Linked DNA regions of Homo sapiens: regions 1, 2, 4, 5, 6 and 7 are each linked to region 3. The links are contacts of gene promoters, found by promoter capture Hi-C in blood cells and fetal thymus (Javierre and others, 2016). All regions are on one chromosome and are shown on one strand. Each heading gives the region's core, a stretch centred on a gene start or on the middle of the fragment in contact. The rest is flanking DNA. Distances are from core to core; before and after follow the strand shown.

Region 1 (2,700 bases), core at 147-2,646, 570 kb after region 3:
AATTTCCTTTTCAGGTAGAGCGCATCTTTTAAAAAAAGAGCCAACACACCTATGTTTAAGAATAAAAATTCACTTGTACTAGATTGTATGTAGCTAAACACTGGATCTATTTTCTGATTCCAAAATTTTCTATCCTAGTATGAATAAATGAAGAATAGGACAAACCTAAGTGCAGGAAAGTATCAAACCCTGTAACGCATACTTATACTGAAAATGTGTTTCACATGGTTAACATTTGCAAAGGCTAAAATCATTTTTCATAAAGAAAATTCCACAGGCTTGCTCAGTATTACCAAACTTCCATAATGAACATTATTTTGAGTGCCAAATTGAGCACGAAAAAAACACCTACTTTTAACTATTATGAAATATTATGAAAAGTAGTAAGACTTATTTATTAGGCTGGTTAAAAAGTAATTTAAAACCAAAGAGAGTTAAATCTTCCTTGAGAACATACTCTCAGAACTTAAGAATGGGGTAAATCAGATGGAGCACAGCCATGCTGTACACATCAACTCACTGAAATCACATAACTTCTATTCTCATGGACCTTATTTTCTATTATCTTGAAAACAAACTGATTATAATCTCCCAAAATACCAGTGGTACCTTAAAATTTAATCAACTCCTTTCCTTAACAGAATTAGGACTTTCAATTAAAAATACTGTAATATCCAAGAGGGTTTCAATGCAAGAGAAACCTTTGCATCATAATTTCAAGTGACCATATATAGTGGAGTTCCCTCTAATAACACGACAGACACAAACAAGCTATCGAGCAAGAATCTGTTAACAGTTTTATTTTTTTTTATGTTAAATACCATGGGACAGGATTGTAAGGATGAAAAACTCAGTCAACAACTGCCTCACAAGGGATAAGAAAAATTCTGCCATGATATTAGCAAAGGTAAAGGAGGAAAAATTTACACTGTAAGAGGCACCATTTCCCCAAGGAATACCTCTTGGCATTTCCTGAATGAGTGGGATTAGCAATCTAAATAAATCATATTTCAAGAGGTAACAGCAACAGATAAAATTTAAAGGGATTATTAAAATAACATTTACAAGACTCTGAACAATTCTTGAACTCTTATTAAAACCACAAAGAAAGAACAATTCTTTATTTATGAATTTCATAAAGGACTCAATGTGCAACTGACATCTGCTAGTGATGATCTGGTAATATACAACCTGTCCAGTAGCCGAACAGTTTGTTTTTATTGTGTTTTCTAACCGTAAGAGATCATTAAAGGCAAAGCCTATATGACGCTGTACACACAAAAAAATGGTCACCGTGGGCCATACTACCAATGAAATGGTAGGTAAACAAATCTTTTTCTGGTCAAGAGAAAAAAAAAAAAAGAAACAGCACTCTGCATGCTTCACTCTACAAGATGAATTTCCCTAGAAAGAATCCAATGAAAATGGCTGCAATTACAACAAGAAGTGAAGGAAGAGGACTGGTGACATTATCTCTGAAGGATGCAGTTGAGGTTGATCCAGGTTTATCCGAATGTGCTACCTTTCTGAGCCTTAAACCTTCATCCTAGAAAAAAAACACACACACAAAAGGTTTTTAAAAACAAGCATACTAACGAGACTACTGGAGCTAAAAATCTATAGGGACGGAAAGTAGATTAGTGGTTGCCTATGGCTGGGGACGGAAAAGGGGATTAACTGCTAACCACATAAGGAAACTTTCCGGGGGTGATAGACATTCTAAAACTGAACTATAGTGATGGTTACAAAGTTCTATGTATCAATGAATTGTACACTCACAGTGGGTGTCTCCATGGGATATAAATTATACCTCAATAACACTGATTTTTTAAAACTGGAGCTGAGAAATGTATTCCTAAAAAGCAAAAGTTAGATAGGCTATATTTACCTTTTTTTAAATCCCACTAAAAATATAATTAAAGAAGAGTACTTCCAAGGTGGCCCATGGTATTTAAAATCAGTTACATCCGTCCTAGCCCAATCAGCCAAAAACTACCCAGACCTGTAGTCTGCCATTTGGGTTTACTGACACACTGCAACTAAGGAACCGGAACAGCAGAGGCACAAAAGGGTGTTCTTGCCGTAAACAGAGATATGGTATCACAGAATTTGGGGGAAGGAAACAGTTTAGCGTGAAATTTAAGTAACAGTGTTTTTATATGCTCAAAGCAAAGCAGAGGGCTGTGTGTAAAGTGGTAGCACCAGGTCTCGACTGCAAAGCAGAGAAAGAATACTGTTTCTTCAGAAACTACAAATTTAGATGAGAAATGTACATAGGAAACCCTTATCTGAAGCTCTGCACCTGGACTGGAAAATGAGGGTGCTTCTCTGTGTCAAAATGACTTAGATCCTCCAGTCAAGAGTAGGCTGCTTCATTCTTGCTGATATGGCTTCACACAGCACTATGTCTTTAGAGCAGAAGGTTTCTCAGAAGAAAGCAGAAGTCACTCCAAGCAGGAGGTTGTTATGACACTGTGTGCAATGTGAACCTTGGGAAAAATACTAATACCTGTTAACTACACAGTTGTCTTTATCTCTGTCTGTTAACCAATCTGATAAATGGCAGGACAGTTTTTTACTTTTTTCAGTACAAGGCAATATTTTCTCCCATGATTCCTTTATTGTGCTTATAAATAAACACTAACTAAAAGAGTACACCTAATGGCACAGTTTTATTTGCATTACTGGATTTTCTGGAGT
Region 2 (2,793 bases), core at 133-2,632, 920 kb after region 3:
AGCAAAATATTGGGGCTGTATCTGGTAGTGGCCAGGGAATCATTCAGAAACCTTTGGAAGGTGCCCTTGAACGTGAATCATATTTAGGAGTATTGTTAAATAGGGATTTGGGAGGGTGAGTCGTGAGACCTGGTAGCCTGTTTTGACTGCTGCCAACAAGCCTGGATGGAGAGATCTTTATTTAGAGATAATATCATTGATATCTTAGAAAAGAGTGCTTTTAAAATGGTTTCAGTGGTACCCACATGTGTGTTGGATCAATTAATGATACCTCTGCTAACAACTTCCCACATAAAATTGAAAGAGAGAGAGAGAGAGACAGAGAGAAAAACCCCTTTGTAAATATGCTTGGGCCTGTAGCTACACGATCCACTGCCCTCCCCCCTCCAAAAAATAAAAAACCAAGACACCTAAATGCATACTTTTTGTTTGTTCCTGCCTGTGAAAGATAAATAGACCTCAGGAGGTAAAGTTCAGAAGTCTGCTGCCACATTTGTTTGATCTCTGGTTTATTATTTCTGGTCCTTTTCTCTCAGTCTCCTCAAAACAATGAATGTATGTTTATTAAACTATTGTTACCTTGCTCCTATGTTTGTATTACATCTTTTTTTTATATTTTGGAGTAAAAGAATTTGAAAGTTCCTAAATTTGAATTAGAGTTGTGTTGTTGTTTTTAAATTGGAGCTGAGAATAAACCTAACTTAGTGTTTTGGGCAGAAGTCTGGATGGCACACCTATGGAATTTTGGCTGAGGAGGTATTCCCTCTAATTTCTATAAGAGGGTCTGGAACTTGCTCTGCTTTTAGCACAGATCTTTGAGCTGGTGACATCATCAATGCTGCTTCCTCCACATTCATTTCTTAACTCTCCTAACTTTTAAGTCATCTTAGCTTCTTATCTCCCTAGACTAAGGAGCAAACTTAACTTACTTTCTGGCCTTATTGATATGAATGTGGTTGGTATTTGAGCATCTATCATGCAGTCATTCTGGAAGATACCTCAGTATAGTTTTGTGTAGGGGAAAGAACACTGGGCTTGGTAAGCCTTTAGACCTGAGTTAATATTCTGGCCCTGCCATTTATTCTCTTTATAATCTGAGCAAGTTAACTTTTTCTCAGCTTTCTACCTTTAAAATGTTGATGGATTTTTGGATCATCTGCAGTTTTTTTGCTGTTACAAATAAAGCTGCTATGAACATTCACACACAAGTCTGTGTGAATATATATGTTCTTTCTCTTGGGTATACATCTAGAAGTAGAATGGCTGTTTAACTTTTTAAGAAACTGCCAGCCCGGTGCGGTGGCTTATGCCTGTAATCCCAGCACTTTGGGAGAACGAGGCGGGTGGATCACCCGAGATCAGGAGTTCAAGACCAGCCTGGCCAACATGGTGAAACCCCGTCTCTATTAAAAATACAAAGAATTAGCTGGGCGTGGTGGTGCATGCCTGTAATCCTAGCTACTCGGGAGGCTGAGGCAGGAGAATCACTTGAACCTGGGAGGCAGAGGTTGCAGTGAGCCGAGATTGCATCATTGCACTCCAGCCTGGGCAACGAGCGAAACTCCATCCAAAAAAAAAAAAAAAAAAAGAAAGAAAGAAAAACTGCCAAACTGTTTTCCAAAGTGGTTATATCATTTTCCATTCCCACCAAAAGTGTATGAGAGTTCCAGGTCCTCATCATCATTGTCAACACTTAGTGTGAGCAGTCTTAATTTTAGCCACTCTTATTAAATGTATAATAGTATTAATTTGTGGCTTGAATTTGCATTAATGGCTAATTATGTTACTCTTTTTATGTGCTCATTTGCCATCTAACTTATCTCCTTTGGTGAAGTGCCTTTTCACATCTTTTGCTCATCTTTTCATTGGGACATTTTCTTATTAAATTTTGAGAGTTCGTTATATATTACAGATACTTAAGACATATACAAAGGCAGATGGACCATCATGTCTCTACTACTCGGTTTTGACTTTCATTTATCCATGTTTCTGTTTTTGTTTTTTTTTTTTTGAGACAGGGTCTGGCTCTGTTGCCCAGGCTGGAGTGTAATGGCACTATCTTGGCTCACTGCAACGTCTGCTTCCCGGACTCAAGTAATCCTCCCACCTCAGCTTACCAAGTAGCTGGGACCACAGGCCTGCACCACCACGCCTGGCTAATTTTTTTGTATTTTTGGTAGAGATGGGGTTTTGCCATGTTGTCTAGGCTGGCCTTGAGCTCCTGAGCTCAAGCAATCCACCTGTCTTGGCCTCCCAAAGTGCTGGAATTACAGGTGTGAGCCACTGCACCCAGCCTGATGTAGATCACTTTTATATTTAAATCTATGAAATTCATTTTTGATAGAAATAACTCATTTATTCAATACTTCATTTATTTAAGATTGGTGGCAATTTGGACCTGAGTTAGTTCAAATTTTGTATTTGGATTACCTGTGGGAAAAAAGGTTACTACCAAAGTAATTGCGTTAAGAGTGCAAAGAAAATTTTTACTCACTGAAGGGAACAAATATCTATAATATTTGGGAGATCCACAAGTGTATGTCAGAGCAAGTGCTTTGTTATACTACCTTTCTGTTAAATACTGTTTGTATACATAATCTTGGTAACTAACTTGAAACTAGATAAACATGCCACTACTGTATTATATAAATAGAAATACATTATACATATGGTGTATATATATAAATATAAATACATATATGAATATACATATAGTATACTTCAGCAAATTATTCTTGCCTTAAATTCAGTTGTGCTATAGGACAATTTTGCATTTCTAAGGATTTAGTAAGC
Region 3 (2,700 bases), core at 145-2,644:
GTGATAGAGCTTGAGTTTTTCCACTGTTTGAAAACTGGCTCTGCGATCTTTCACCTGTGCAGTTGGGGGCAAGTCGTTATGAGGCTTCCCTGAGTCTCATTTCCTCTTACGAAAAATTAGAATCTCTATTTGGAAAGTTATTGTGAAGATCTCAGCTTATGAAATTATGTATGTGAAGCACCCACCACAGAGCACAATGCTGACTTTTTCTTTTCTTTTTTTTTTTTTTTTTTGAGACGGAGTCTCGCTCTGTGGCCCAGGCTGGAGTGCAGTGGCGCGATCTCGGCTCACTGCAAGCTCTGCCTTCCGGGTTCAGGCCATTCTCCTGCCTCAGGCTCCCGAGTAGCTGGGACTACAGGCGCCCGCCACCACGCCCGGCTAATTTTTTGTATTTTTAGTAGAGACGGTTTTCACCGTGTTAGCCAGGATGGTCTGGATCTTCTGACCTTGTGATCCGCCCGCCTCGGCCTCCCAAAGTGCTGGGATTGCAGACGTGAGCCACCGCGCCCGGCCCACAATGCTGACTTTCTATTAACTGTAACTGCCAGATAAAAATGCACTGGAGTAATGAAACGGGGGGAAGAGGCTGCCAAAAGGATGAATTAAGGATTATCAGTTCAGTCCCACAAACATTTGCAGGGTGCCTACTACGTACTGTACCAGAGGTGGCAGGACATACACATCAAAGGACGAACGAAGCACAGTCCCTGCCCACAGGGACAGTAAAATGCCAGATGACAAAGGTTCACCGAGGAGTTTTTGGGGTAAACCTATGGTCCCCTCCACACAGGGGGCTCTTCTAGGGCGGTGGTTCTCAACAGAGCGATGTTGTTCCCCAGATGACATTTTGGGTTGCCACAAATGGGGAAGAGATGCGACCGGCACCCAGCAGGTAGAGGCCAAGGATGCTGCTAACGAGCCTCCGATGCACAGACAGCCCCCACCACAATCTTCAGGAGCAGAGCGCCCAAGTAGAGAAGCCCTCGCCCCGCAGCACTGCGCCGAGTCCCCGCCCACACCGGCTCTGGGGAGCGGACTTCCGGCGGGGTGGACCCACGGCGCTTCCCGAGGCGCCGCAGAGCTGACCCCGACCCCGGGAGTGTGACCCAGAGGACACCGAGCCCCGGCAGCCCTGCGGGCACCAGCGCGCCGAGGCCCCTCAGCCCTGAGCCCTCCCTCCCGCCCCCCCCGGGTGCTAAGGCCGCGCCAGTGAGAGACGGACCCGGCGTCTACACACAGGCCCCCGGAAGGTTCTCACTCACTATTTCTCTGCTTTGGCGAGGTGTTCCAGCCCCTCGTTTATCTTCTGAGCCGCCATCTCCACAGTCAGGTCTCTGACGTGGAGAGAGGGTGACCCTGCCTCTTCCTCCGGCGCCAAGAATCCGCCCAAATAGGCGTGGGAACGCCGAGGAGGAAGCTGGTGCAGCGCGACAGTCGAGCGGCTACGGAGGGCCGGAGGGCCCAAGCCGCTGCGACGAAGCGGGGCTGGGAGCCTGCCGGTGCGCCCCGCAAAGAGACATTGCGCAGGCGCAGCGCGTCAAGGCTGGCCCCACCTAGGGCATCTAGCGCAGGCGCGGTGAGATACTGATGGGGCGTATTCTTTCATTCAATATTTGCAAAGCACCTAATATGTGTCAGGCACTATTTTAGATGCGGGAAGATCAGCAGACAAAAACTCCCGCCCTCTTGAAGTCTTGCTTTTTCATTAATGTGAAACTGCTGTGGATCCTGTTTGTAGGGTTAATTGGCTTTATAATTTATTACATCTGAAGTTTCTCTGTATGACAGATAGAATAGTATTCTTCTATCCATTCTGCCTTTTGGGTATTAATTGTATGTCAGTCAAGAAACGAAACAGACTTGTAAACCCTGATTACTGTCAAATAATCCGCGCCCAACCCAAATAATCGCTCTAATATTTCAAGCCGTGATAAGTGCTCTAAATGGGAAGTTGAGGGATCTAAAGTCGCGTACAGTGGTCTGGTAAAAATAGTAACCAGTAATACAGTTGGCTTCATTCATAATTCATGGTGATTTCAATATCCACATGGATGATTCCTGCAATGACTATACAGCCTCTCAGCTTCCAACCTCCTGTGATCTTTCCCACACTAGCGCAGCCACACATTCCTGGGATCACACCCTTGACCTTACTCATAACTGTGTACCCTCCGTAGTGTCAGTTTCAAACAGCTCACTTTACTTCCCCTTTCCATTCCAGCTCATACCTCCTAGTGCTAGTAATTACTTAACCTTCACCAGATTCCTCACCTTTCCCTATCCCTCTGCTCTTACACGTCCTTCTTTTCCCAGCATAAATTCATGTCCCATCATTTTAGTGCGTATACTCTCAACGGCCTTGGCTCCCTCTCCCTCCTTTCTCCAAGCCAGGAAAAACCCCAGCTCTCCACCTACTCTGGAACTGCTCTTGAGCAAGTGAATTTGACTGGAAAAAAACAAACGAGGATGCTAACATTACTCATTTTAATGATCATAAACATTAAGCCGACCTTTGGTGCTGCTGAGCAACTCTCCTATGTTTCCATGGTCAAATCACTCACCCACTCACTTGGAGGGCTGTTCACACCTTCCTTCTCAAAACTCCTACACAATCTCTGCTTGCCTGCCAACTCTCACTTATTGTTGAATATGAAATAACTATTCGAAGAGTTCTTCCCTTTGGCCTCACCACACAATCGA
Region 4 (2,700 bases), core at 184-2,683, 670 kb after region 3:
AGAGAGGCCTAAAAGACATACCAACTAATCCCAGCATGTGGAGATTATTTCCATTCTGATGTAAACAAATGGTAACATGCAAACAAAGAAACCATTTATGACAACTATGAACTTTTTGGAAATTTGACCACTGACTGTTTATTTGATGATAGTAATTAATATGATAACAGCATTCTGGTTATTAATATGATAACATAGTTGTCATTGTTTAAAAAAATTATGGACAAAATATTTATAGATTAAATTAGATGTCTGAGATTCTCTTCAAAATAATACAGGTGGTGAGCACAGGATGGGATAGAGATGGCACAAGCTTGGTTTTGAGTATACAATGGTTCACTATATTATTCAGTGCACTTGTGTATATGTTTGAAATTTTACATAATAAAGTGTTTTTTAAGTTCCCTGGAATCTGACCATCATGAAACAACCACTGTTAACATTTTGATATGTATCCTTCCAAGAAGGATATATTCTTGGAATAATATTTATCATTATATATATTGAAATATATTATGAAATATATGAAATATGATATTGAAATATATTATGAAATATGATATTGAAATATATTATGAAATATATGAAATATGATATTGAAATAGATTATGAAATATTATGAAATATGAGATATATTGTGAAATAAGGATATTATATGAACTGCTCTGTAACTTCCATTTCACATTCAATGATTGATCTTTTTATGTCAGTAAACAAAGATTTATGTCATCCTTTTGAATCACTTGTTTATATGGGTGTACCATGATTTCTTAAAAACTATTTCCTAACTTTTGGACAGTTCAGTAATTTCCTGTTTTCTGCTGTCATGAATAATGTTACAATAAACCACGCTGTGCAATGGGACATGATATAGACAAGCTAAGAGCATGTGCCCCGGAGCCTGCCTGCCTGTCTCTCACTTATTAGCTGTGTGCCCTGGGGAAAGTTACAAGCCTCTCCAGGCCTCAATTTCCTCATCTGTAAAACAGGGATGATAACAGAGCCTACTTCACAGGATCAAGGGTGCATTAATGAGCTAAGTATATATTTCAGCAATTGCAACAAAAGCACAGAATCAGAGCTCCGTACATATTAAACCTTGTTATTATGTTTGCACACCTGAAGAATTTCTTCTTTAGAATTGCTGGAATAAAAGACATGCCTTTTGAGACCCAACTTGCCCATATGCCGAAATGACATTATTTTACATTCACTAAATTAACTTTCTTGGTGTAAGAAAGTCTGTCCACTTTCTTAAGTGGATTGCATTTGGTAAATTAACTTTTTTTGGGGTGAGAAAGTGGACAAACTTTGTCTTTGTCCTTTCCTTGTTCCTTAACTGCTAAACTTACCTTCACCTGACAGCTTGCTGACTATTATAAAATCTGCAAACCTTTTGCTTTGCTTTAAAATTACTTTAACCTGCTACTAACTAAAGGTGCCTAGAGCACAACACTCTGTGAACAAATGTTTCCAGAACAAGACATGATCACTACCCACAAGTCTTAACTTGTTGTCTTTCATATTAACACCCCATTCCAATTTTCCAAGCCAATATGCTTGTACCTCTAAATATATTTACCTTATTTATTTATTTATTTATTTATTTTAGAGATAGGATCTCGTTCTGTTGCCCAGGCTGCAGGGCGGTGGCACAGTCATAGCTCACTGCAGCCTCAAACTCCTGGGCCCAAGTGATCCTCCTGCCTCAGTCTCCAGAGTAGCTGGGACTACAGGTGCACACCGCCATGCCCATATATTCACCTTAATAAAACAAATGTTTCTCACCTTGCTCTCAAACTAACAACAAATATAAAACCTGGTCTAATGTCTCTAGTGTCTCCAAGTGTAATTTTCAGGAGAAAGTCCTGCTTTCTCTGCCACAGTCAACACTTAAATTAACTGGAGCAAAATGCATAGCTATTTTGCTGGGTTCCACCCCAATCCAGACATTTTTCTGCTGAGCCTGCAGCTCCACCTCTCTTTGCCCTCAGGAAAAGTTAAAATACTTTTAAAGAGATATTCGAGTTAAGTAATTAAAATCCACAAACCAGCTGGCCATGGTGGCACATACCTGTAATCCCAGCACTTTGGGAAGCCAAGGCGGGAGGACCACTTGAGCCCAGGAGTTCAAGACCAGCCTGGACAATACAGCGAGACCTCATCTCTAAAAATAAAAAAATAATAATAATCTACAAACCAAAACTTGGGTTCACCACAATCCAGAATCCTATATGCTAGGCTCATAACCAAATCCAGCCCAGATCACTTGTTCCTATGCCAATCCTCCTCATTCCGGCAAACAGAACTTGGGGATGACTCTTGGTAACGCTGTCTTCCTCATTCCCCATCTCCTTCCAGTGTTATTGGTTCTTCTGGAAGATTTCTGAAATCCAGCTCCACTTCCTCCACCCTCGTCCAAGCCACTTCTCTCCTGGATTATTACAATCGCATGCCAACTGATTGAGACATGCGGAGACTTTCCTCCTTTTAAGTGTGATCTTTTTTTGTAAATGTAAATTGGACACTCTGCACTCCTGCTTTAAAAGCTTGAGGGGCTTCCAATTGTTTCAGAGTATCACCCTTACTCCCATGGCAAGGCCCTGCTGAGTCTCTAACCACAACTTCCCACAGCACTCCTTGCTCTTCCTTAAAAGCACCACGACATTTCCTGCCTTGGGACTTGGCTCCTGCGGTTTG
Region 5 (2,700 bases), core at 168-2,667, 620 kb before region 3:
CTATCTGTGTAGACTCCATATTGGGTAGGTTTTACTGCTTTCCTTAACTTACAGATGAAGAAGCTGAGGCACTAAAAGTCTCAATAATGATCAAAAGAAGTCATTGTTTGTCATTGTGGATGCAGAGAGGCATAGGGTGTCTGGTGCTTAATTCATTACCGGGGTAAACTGGTGATTATACACATCAGGTACCCATGAAATATCAAAATAATATGTCCATGAGTATTTTACATGTTTGATTTCTCCCCAAAGCATTTTTAAACTCACATACTCTTTCAAATTTTAGACAAGATTCTGGCAAACTTTGGAATAAAGTTTGCCAGGCAAGCAGAGCTCCCGAACAGTGATCAATACCCTCATGGGCTGGTGAGTCCTTAAAAACTAACCTGTCTAGACACCAGATACTGCTTCTATGAGAGCAGGGAAAATTGAGGGTTAAACAGCCCTTGTAAAAACAATGCCACTGCTATGGATATGTATGCTCAAGTCAAGTCCATTGTGAAAGAAAATACAGCTTCAGAAAGGTGGATGAGGTTTGGAGATGCTGGTTTTGAAAGCCAATGGACTATTTTCTGAGTCTGATATGAAAATGAGGACAGCGGTCTTCACCCCTGACTGCATACTTAAGAATCACTTGAGAGCTTTAAGAAAAATACAGGTGTGGGGGCCCCATCGCAGACCAATTAAATCAGGATTTCAGGGAGTGTGGAGACTGAGCGTTTTTCAAAAGCTCCCCAGGTGACTGCAACATGTAGCCAGCATGGAGAAGCCTATTTCAGATGTAGTCTAGACCGCTGAAACTTCCCCTTGAGTACATACGTTGGAAGTCTCAGAACTGGGATGTAGTTGTTAAAATCTCTAACGCCCCAGCAGCCAAGTTGGTACACACTGTGGCAGAGAAAGCTCGAAGTTTATTTGGTAAGACCACCCACCTGCTGGGAATCTTGTGCCTCCCAGCTTATGTTATTTTGAAAGAGAATTATTGTGAAAAAGTCTAGACAGTTGTTAGTATGGGAAGCCTATCAAGAACATAAGAAAGTATTCAGAGAATACAGAATTCATGTGATGACACAGTATTATTTAAAATTCAGGAGTCCTTCACCTATTAGCTCCCAAGAATGAGTCGTACATGGGGTGAGGTGGGGAGGGCATGGATGTGAAGGCAGACTTATGAACATCAAAATTAGTGGTAGATTTATATCAGGCTTCTACAAACAGGCTACACAAACCATTTCTTGATAGCATTTCTTGGTGACTGGATGCTAATTTAAGTTCTATCGTCTCCTGTAGGTCTGCTGTTGAGCTCATGACTACGCCCGGGTTTAGGTGCTATCTAAGCTTCTTGAGGATGGCAGAGCACATGGGTGGTTTAAGTTTCAGGGTGTCTTCACCATATGCCAACTGTCTTGAGTCTTCATTCAAAAAGCAATGGTTCATAGTTTTTCTGTAATTCTCAGAGAATTCGTGAAGGCACCTGAGCTCAAACCACAAGCTTACCCTGTCTCAAAAAAGGGATGTCCACAAAAGCGTTTCAAATGGCTAAAAAGACGGGGGTTTGCCTGTTTTTCATCAGCTCACTGCTCTATCCCCTCCAACTAATGCAAGCCAGGAATGTAGGTGCGGAAGGGAAGCCAGGTCCTTCCCAGTGTGTCCTCCTGATGGAATGCCAGTCCTGAACAGTCCTCTCTACAGATGCTAACAGCCTCTTCCTCCATGTCCGGAAAGACCCCTACTGTGCTCTAGCAAATCTCCTCCACTCTCGGATAACAGTTAAATAAAAGACCCAGGCACACTGCAGTCTCCCAGCTAGAGCCAGATTTCTCTAGATCTTGCCTAGAACAGGCAAAAAGCAGTGCACTAGGAGAAAGGGAGAATATTCTCAGTGCCAACGCTCTCTTTCCCCAGAGCCACGACAAGCAAGGAGCAAAACTGAGGTGAAAACGGAGAGTTCCCCCAAATGCACAAAGTGGGTGCATTATCTGTTGGGGAAGACCCGGGATTTCCCAGAGTCTATTCAGAATGGCAAGTTCTTGCTATGTGAAATATGGGCAGGGTCAACGGTGTAGATGAATTCAGCTCTATTCTTCTTAATGCCAGTGTGCACCTGTGGACCCAGCAGAAGTCGGGGTCGCACAGGACTCTCCAAGCCCCTGGCTTCTCTCCTGCCGGGCCTGTGCGTTTCCCTCGGACCTTAAACGGTTCCCTGGGTTTGGGCAAGCTCAGGGCCCGGCCGGGTGGACTGGATGCCAGGGTGCACCACCGGAATGACAGAACCACGCAGAGCCGCGGGGCTGCGGGAGCCAGTGGGGCAGGAGTGCCCGCGGAGGGCGAGCCAAGGCGCGCAGCCCACTGGCAGGCCAGGCCGGGTCTCTCCCAGGCGCGGGAGCCGCGGGTGGGGGCTTGCCCTCCGCGCCGGTGCAAGGCTCTCACTTCCCCAGCCGCTCAGGGGCGGGCTCCGCGCGCGCAGGCCCCGGAGCCGCCATCCCATTGGCCGGGGGACACGCCCGTCCCCGAGTGAGGGCTTCGAAAGTTTCATTGAAGGTGGAGAAGCGCGCGCCGCCGGGGAGCCCCGGCTGCGCCGCGAGGGCGAGGCTGCAAGGCGGCAGGCGGTGGTCGCGCTGGGCGACGGGACGGCGCTGGTTTTTCTCTTGAGTTTTAAATTGAGGCGGTGGAGGAGGGAGTGGGAGACCCACTCACCCG
Region 6 (2,700 bases), core at 98-2,597, 590 kb after region 3:
AGCATTTCTAAATTGTTTCTAAAAAAAAATACTATTTAAAAATTCTTTCATTCTTTAAGTTAGGATTATCTATAATGAAGAAATTGGCAGTTTTTTAAAAACCTAAATTTAACTTTTAGTTTTTAGAAATTAAGTTTTTCTACTGACTGCTAAACAACACCCACAGTTTAAACTCCACTTCCCAAAACAAATTCTTCTTCTATACTTACCACAGCTTCCATATCTGAAGTGTTTGGTGGAGCAAAAATTGTCTGTACCATAAACTTGTGTTTACTCTTTTCATTCGGATCATAGTCAAAGGGCTGTAGCATTACTAAATAAGAAAAAAAGGATATATTATATTGTCTCCTGCATGTCTGAAAGACATACATTGAAACAGTTACAGATTAAATTATACTAAGTCTGGGATTTGCCTTAAACCGTATCTGGCAATAGTATCATTCCTACTACTTCACAAATATGCAAATTTAAAAAAAACCAAGAAGGGTTCAAGAAACCAAACACTGGAATGTTTAAGAATCAACTTAATGGATCCCAAGTATTTTTAAATTGTCTGTCTTTCTAATTTACTAAGTTTTGCACAACCAACAAAATAAACAATTACAATTAAAAATTAAATATGAATCTATGATTTTGCCCTTTCTAAACTCAGCTTGTGAAAATTTTCAAAACTTTGCCAACGTTAACTATAATGCCTATAAGCTCAGATTAAATATAAGTTATTAAAACTATGAATTTAGGCTTCATTTTAGTGTTTTCTGATTTAAAATTATACAACTGAGATATTTAAAGGAGAAATACTCAGTAACTTAAAACCTCACTACCATCTGTTTTTTGTTTTTTAAAACAGGGTCTCACTCTGTGGCTGAGGCTGCGCTGCAGTGCAGTGGCGCAATCTCAGCTCACTGTAGCCTCAACCTCCCTAGGCTCAGGCAATCCTCCCACTTCAGGCTCCTAAATAGCTAAGACTATAGCCACATGCCACCATGCCCAGCTAATTTTTGTATTTTTTTGTAGAGAAAGGGTTTTCGTCATTTTGCCCAGGCTGGTATAGAATTCCTGGGCTCAAGAGATCCGCCCTCCTCAGCCTCCCGAAGTGCTAGGATTACAGGCGTAAGCCACAGCACCCAGCCCATATATTGTTTTAATATAATTAATTTTTCAAAATTGTATTTTAAATAAACATCTATTTCAGAGTTTATGAATTTATTTAAATCTTCTAAGAAAACAAAAGTACACAAGGAAACCATATAGCCTCTTGAGTTCTAAAATTTATTCTACAGTCTCAATAACATTCAAAATTTTTAAGTTTTTTTTTTTTTTTTTTTGAGACGGAGTCTTGCTCTGTCGCCCAGGCTGGAGTGCAGCGGTACAATCTCGGCTCACTGCAAGCTCTGCCTCCCAGGTTCACGCCATTCTCCTGCCTCAGCCTCCCGAGTAGCTGGGACTACAGGCGCCTGCCACCATGCCCGGCTAATTTTTTTGTATTTTTAGTAGAGACGGGGTTTCACCGTGTTATCCAGGATGGTCTCGATCTCCTGACCTCAAGATCCGCCCGTCTCAGCCTCCCAAAGTGCTGGGATTACAGGCGTGAGCAATTTTTAAGCATTTATAATTTCTCGTCTTTTAAGTTTTCTAAGGTTCCATGTGGTTGTAAGTCATGCTAAATTTATGTAACATGAGTCCAATATAACAGACTATACAAAGAATCAATCAACAGTTACACAAAATATGTACATGGCATTATAGAAATTATTTCCCTAACTTTAGATTATTTCTAAGATATATCTCTACACTTTCAAAAAGATAAACACGGGTAAATAAATGTAAGAAATAATTATGTAATAAAGTCTTATTCATAAGGTGTGTCTGAGAAGTCCATTAACTGCTATCAAGGTTAAGACAACTTTTTCAAGGGGCCAAATACACAGCAGCAGGAAATGTACTGGATAAAATGCCTCAGAATACAGCTTAAGCTAAATAAAATTCCATTAGCAACCTTCACTGAGTTAATGATTATAAGCTAATCACTATGAACCAAAAATTTGTGAATAAAACGAAAACTTACAACATGGTTAAGTTTATAGGAGTTATACTCTAATTTAGGTTGCAGACCACATAACAAGACAAAGACGATCTTGAAAACATATATAAAAATGTGCACAAATTGAAGCAAATTCAAAAAACAAAGCGTCAAAAGGACACAGGGAAAAAGAGAAATGAGCATGTAGTACAGAGAATTAACCAGAGAAGGTTGTTGGAAGAAGCATAGCTTTGAGTGACTGTAAATGGAAATACACTACACTAAAAACTGGAAAAGCCAAATTCTAATTAAGTAGAACAATCCAAGGGCATGTTTGCGTAATCAGTAACCAGTTTGTCTGAAGGTTTTAATAAGTCAGGTTTCTGTGGGAGAAAGTGTTTTGATACGTTGTTTTCTCAAGAAATATTAATACACAGAAACCAGCAATCTAGGCCCCTCAAAGAAAAAGTCATTCTGCATAGTTGTATGGATTCCTAGGGATATAACTGTTTGTACCAATAAACTATTTTTAGCCATGTGGATTGAAATAATTATATCTTCTGGCCAGGCGCAGTGGCTCACGCCTGTAATCCCAGCATTTGGGGAGGCTAAGGTAGATGGATCACTTGAGGTCAGGAGTTCGAGACCAGCCTGGCCAACATGGTGAAACCCTGCCT
Region 7 (2,700 bases), core at 124-2,623, 620 kb after region 3:
AATAAAATGACAACCCACAATTTAAAATGTCATTGACTTCTCTATTGTTTAACATTTAAGCTAGGAATAATGAACCATGTGACCTATGTTCATTTTGTTTGCTCTTTTTAGATTGGCTAATGCAGCACAGAAAGGCCTTAAAGTATTAGCAAATATATACACTCCAGCATATCAAGCAACCAAATTTTCATGAGTCTAAGAAGTACAAAGGCTTTGAATATTATTTCAACCTATTTGAATCACTAATAGTATTCACCTTTGGACAAGTTCTCTCTTATGGACTTGGCAAAGATTTTTTTTTGTTTTCAGTACGGATAGTATCAAAGTACTTATACCCCTCTACTTCTCCATAGTTAAACATGTTAAACTTTACAGTAGAGGTGCTCTATAATTATGAATTTGTTTATGAGCAATTCTCTGAGTTATTGACTTCAGTGAACATTTAAACAGGCATGCTTTCCATAAATATTGAGGCAGTAAAGTAAAATACAGGCTTTGAATCTAGACTGCTAGGTTCAAGTTCCATTTTCCACTGTGTGATCTTTGCAGCTCACTCCACCTCTCTGTGCCTGTTTTACATCTGTAAAATGAGAAGAAGAAGAATACCTACATTCTGGGTTTGTTACCAGGATTCAATGAGTTCCTACACATGAAGAGCTTATAATAGTGCCTGATTCCAGCACTGTTACCTTATTAATATTAAATGTTAAATTACTGCTGTGTGCCCAGCACTGTGGCAGGTACTGGTGATTAGTCATGAGCTGATAGACATGGTCCCTACCCTTATAGGCTTACATTCAAGAGTGAGAGACAAAAGTGAAATAACTATACAATTATTTCATTTGAATTGTGGTAAACACTAGGAACGAGAGGTCTAGGGTACTGGGAGAGTAACCTGTGGGAACTGAGTTGAGGGTTTGGAGATTATCTCCTTCAGGGAGTAATAAGAAGTATCTCCTGAAGGATATCTGGATACCCAGGAAAGGAGAACAGAATATGCAAAGGCCAGACTGACATGAGCGTGGCTCATTGCAAATTGTAGAAGAAAGGCTGATGTGTTATGGTAAATAAAGTGGGTAGTGAGTAGCAGGAGATGAGGCTGAAAAGCCAGATTATGCAGATTGTTTCAGGCCATATTAAGGATTTGAGTCTTTATCATAAGAAAATAGGAAACCATCAAAGGGTTTAAACAATAGAGTCATATGAGCAATTCTTAAAAGTTCTCTTGACTACAATGTGGTGATTGGATTAGGGGGAGTAAGAGGGAATATGGGGAGAACTGTTTAGATTAGTGCTATAATTCAGAAGACAGAGGATGATATTACAGAGGATGGTATTGCAGAGAATGACAGTTTGGGCTAAGGTAGACACAGTGGAGATGGAGCAAATAAATACGAACAGATTTGAGAGATATTTAGGTGGTAGAATCAATAACCAATCAGCTATTGATTAGATACAGGGGTGGTAAGAGAAAGTAAGAGAGTGAGGAATCACTCCCCTTCTTCCGGTGTGTGCAGGTGAATGAATGATGGTACTAGTCACAGAGACAGAGGACCAGATTCTGATGTTGGGGTGCAGGGAAGGAAAGATCACTAAGCCAGTTTGATGTAAGATGCCTTTGAGACATTCATGAGGAAATGTTAAATAAGCAATAGAGTGTTCTGGTGGGAACTCAGGAGCAGCAGCTCTGTGCTGAAAACTGAACCTCCAAGTCTTGAGCATGAATGGTCACGGGCATGTAGGAGGTCACCTAATACAGACAGAGAAATGACCAGAACCTCATACTCCTTCTTGGGAAACTGCAACTTTCAAATATCTCATTAAGTAGAATGAGTTAGCTTGGGTGGAAGAAAAGTGGCCAGAGAGGTAAGTAGGAAAGGAGGCCATGGTTATTACTATGGATGGCTCAGTTGTCCCCATTCGGACTTCCTCCAGGGTTGCCTTACTGTATTGCGGAAGCCACTCCTTTGCATCTAGGCTCTTTTTTGGAATGAGAAAACCCTGGAGACTTAATGTATCCACCTTAGTGGCTCACAACATTGTACTTGACCTTATAGCTGTGATAAAAATTCTTGAACCCTTGGAAAACTCACACATTGCCTACTTTTCTCAGATTCTGTTGATCTCTCCTCAGCTCCCTCTAAATGACTTGTTTGCCAGTGCCAGAGCATGCTGGCAAAAAGAAAAAGCCCAACAAGCATCAGGACTCCAGAGGACTGAACCACCAGGCTTGCCCCTTGCCCAGTTCCCCGCAGGGGAAGGCGATCATACACAAATGGGACAAACAAACTGAGCCCATGGCCACGGCAACTCTCATTGTTCCTATTTGTAATCTGGTCAAAGATCAATAGAATTGTGGATTTTGAAGAATTGTAAAGCTAAATAATGGAAATGAAATCACAATTCAGATACAAGTCATAGATTTAATTAAATGTGTATGGATCGTTCTTGAAGTTTCTAGACTTACATGTAAAGGGCAATTATCAGGTGTGGCTTATCATACATCAATCTTATCAGCATGGTTCAATTTAAGAAAAAATGCATTAAGCTGAAATTAGATTGTGCCCACCAAGAAGACTTAGTAACTGTGTACTTTTGGAAATGAGTATATAAATCCCAGAGCTGTTCAGCAGTGTAGTAAACAATGTCTGGTCCCTGATTCTACATTTTCTTTTGTGACATCATTAAGACAGAAGCCAA

The links. The method cuts DNA at HindIII sites, captures the fragments that hold promoters and counts their contacts. A CHiCAGO score of 5 or more calls a contact.
Region 1: a contact is called between a fragment that was not itself captured here and the fragment with the promoter of NAPG in region 3, in 15 of 17 cell types (total B cells, naive B cells, fetal thymus and 12 more). The highest score is 14.9, in total B cells.
Region 2: a fragment that was not itself captured here is called in contact with the fragment with the promoter of NAPG in region 3 in 1 of 17 cell types (non-activated CD4 T cells); the score reaches 5.0 in non-activated CD4 T cells.
Region 4: a contact is called between a fragment that was not itself captured here and the fragment with the promoter of NAPG in region 3, in 1 of 17 cell types (M1 macrophages). The highest score is 5.8, in M1 macrophages.
Region 5: a fragment that was not itself captured here is called in contact with the fragment with the promoter of NAPG in region 3 in 1 of 17 cell types (megakaryocytes); the score reaches 7.1 in megakaryocytes.
Region 6: a contact is called between a fragment that was not itself captured here and the fragment with the promoter of NAPG in region 3, in 10 of 17 cell types (fetal thymus, total B cells, naive CD4 T cells and 7 more). The highest score is 13.1, in fetal thymus.
Region 7: a contact is called between a fragment that was not itself captured here and the fragment with the promoter of NAPG in region 3, in 5 of 17 cell types (naive CD8 T cells, total B cells, non-activated CD4 T cells and 2 more). The highest score is 8.0, in naive CD8 T cells.

The regions. Positions count from the first base shown.
Region 1 is chr18:9,952,899-9,955,598 of GRCh38, reverse strand. It overlaps VAPA (VAMP associated protein A), which reads right to left. Exons shown (of 6, transcript NM_194434.3): 6 at 1-1,546. The coding sequence ends at 1,388. Among named protein-coding and RNA genes, the nearest start is that of VAPA, 40 kb to the right of the region's middle. The HindIII fragment of the contact is 9,151 bases long and covers 1-2,700 here.
Region 2 is chr18:9,606,579-9,609,371 of GRCh38, reverse strand. The region is part of intron 2 of PPP4R1 (protein phosphatase 4 regulatory subunit 1); the gene reads left to right. Among named protein-coding and RNA genes, the nearest start is that of PPP4R1, 6.6 kb to the left of the region's middle. The HindIII fragment of the contact is 2,824 bases long and covers 1-2,793 here.
Region 3 is chr18:10,524,721-10,527,420 of GRCh38, reverse strand. It overlaps NAPG (NSF attachment protein gamma), which reads right to left and starts at 1,394. Exons shown (of 12, transcript NM_003826.3): 1 at 1,263-1,394. The coding sequence starts at 1,318. RefSeq lists a silencer at 1,002-1,251. The HindIII fragment of the contact is 5,497 bases long and covers 1-2,700 here.
Region 4 is chr18:9,849,777-9,852,476 of GRCh38, reverse strand. All of the region lies in intron 6 of RAB31 (RAB31, member RAS oncogene family), which reads right to left. Among named protein-coding and RNA genes, the nearest start is that of TXNDC2, 35 kb to the left of the region's middle. The HindIII fragment of the contact is 2,236 bases long and covers 316-2,551 here.
Region 5 is chr18:11,149,404-11,152,103 of GRCh38, reverse strand. It overlaps PIEZO2 (piezo type mechanosensitive ion channel component 2), which reads left to right and starts at 2,535. Exons shown (of 56, transcript NM_001378183.1): 1 at 2,535-2,700. RefSeq lists a silencer at 2,183-2,632. The HindIII fragment of the contact is 154 bases long and covers 1,341-1,494 here.
Region 6 is chr18:9,933,723-9,936,422 of GRCh38, reverse strand. It overlaps VAPA (VAMP associated protein A), which reads right to left. Exons shown (of 6, transcript NM_194434.3): 3 at 210-313. Among named protein-coding and RNA genes, the nearest start is that of VAPA, 21 kb to the right of the region's middle. The HindIII fragment of the contact is 7,615 bases long and covers 1-2,700 here.
Region 7 is chr18:9,908,130-9,910,829 of GRCh38, reverse strand. No RefSeq gene overlaps it. Among named protein-coding and RNA genes, the nearest start is that of VAPA, 4.5 kb to the left of the region's middle. The HindIII fragment of the contact is 5,806 bases long and covers 1-2,700 here.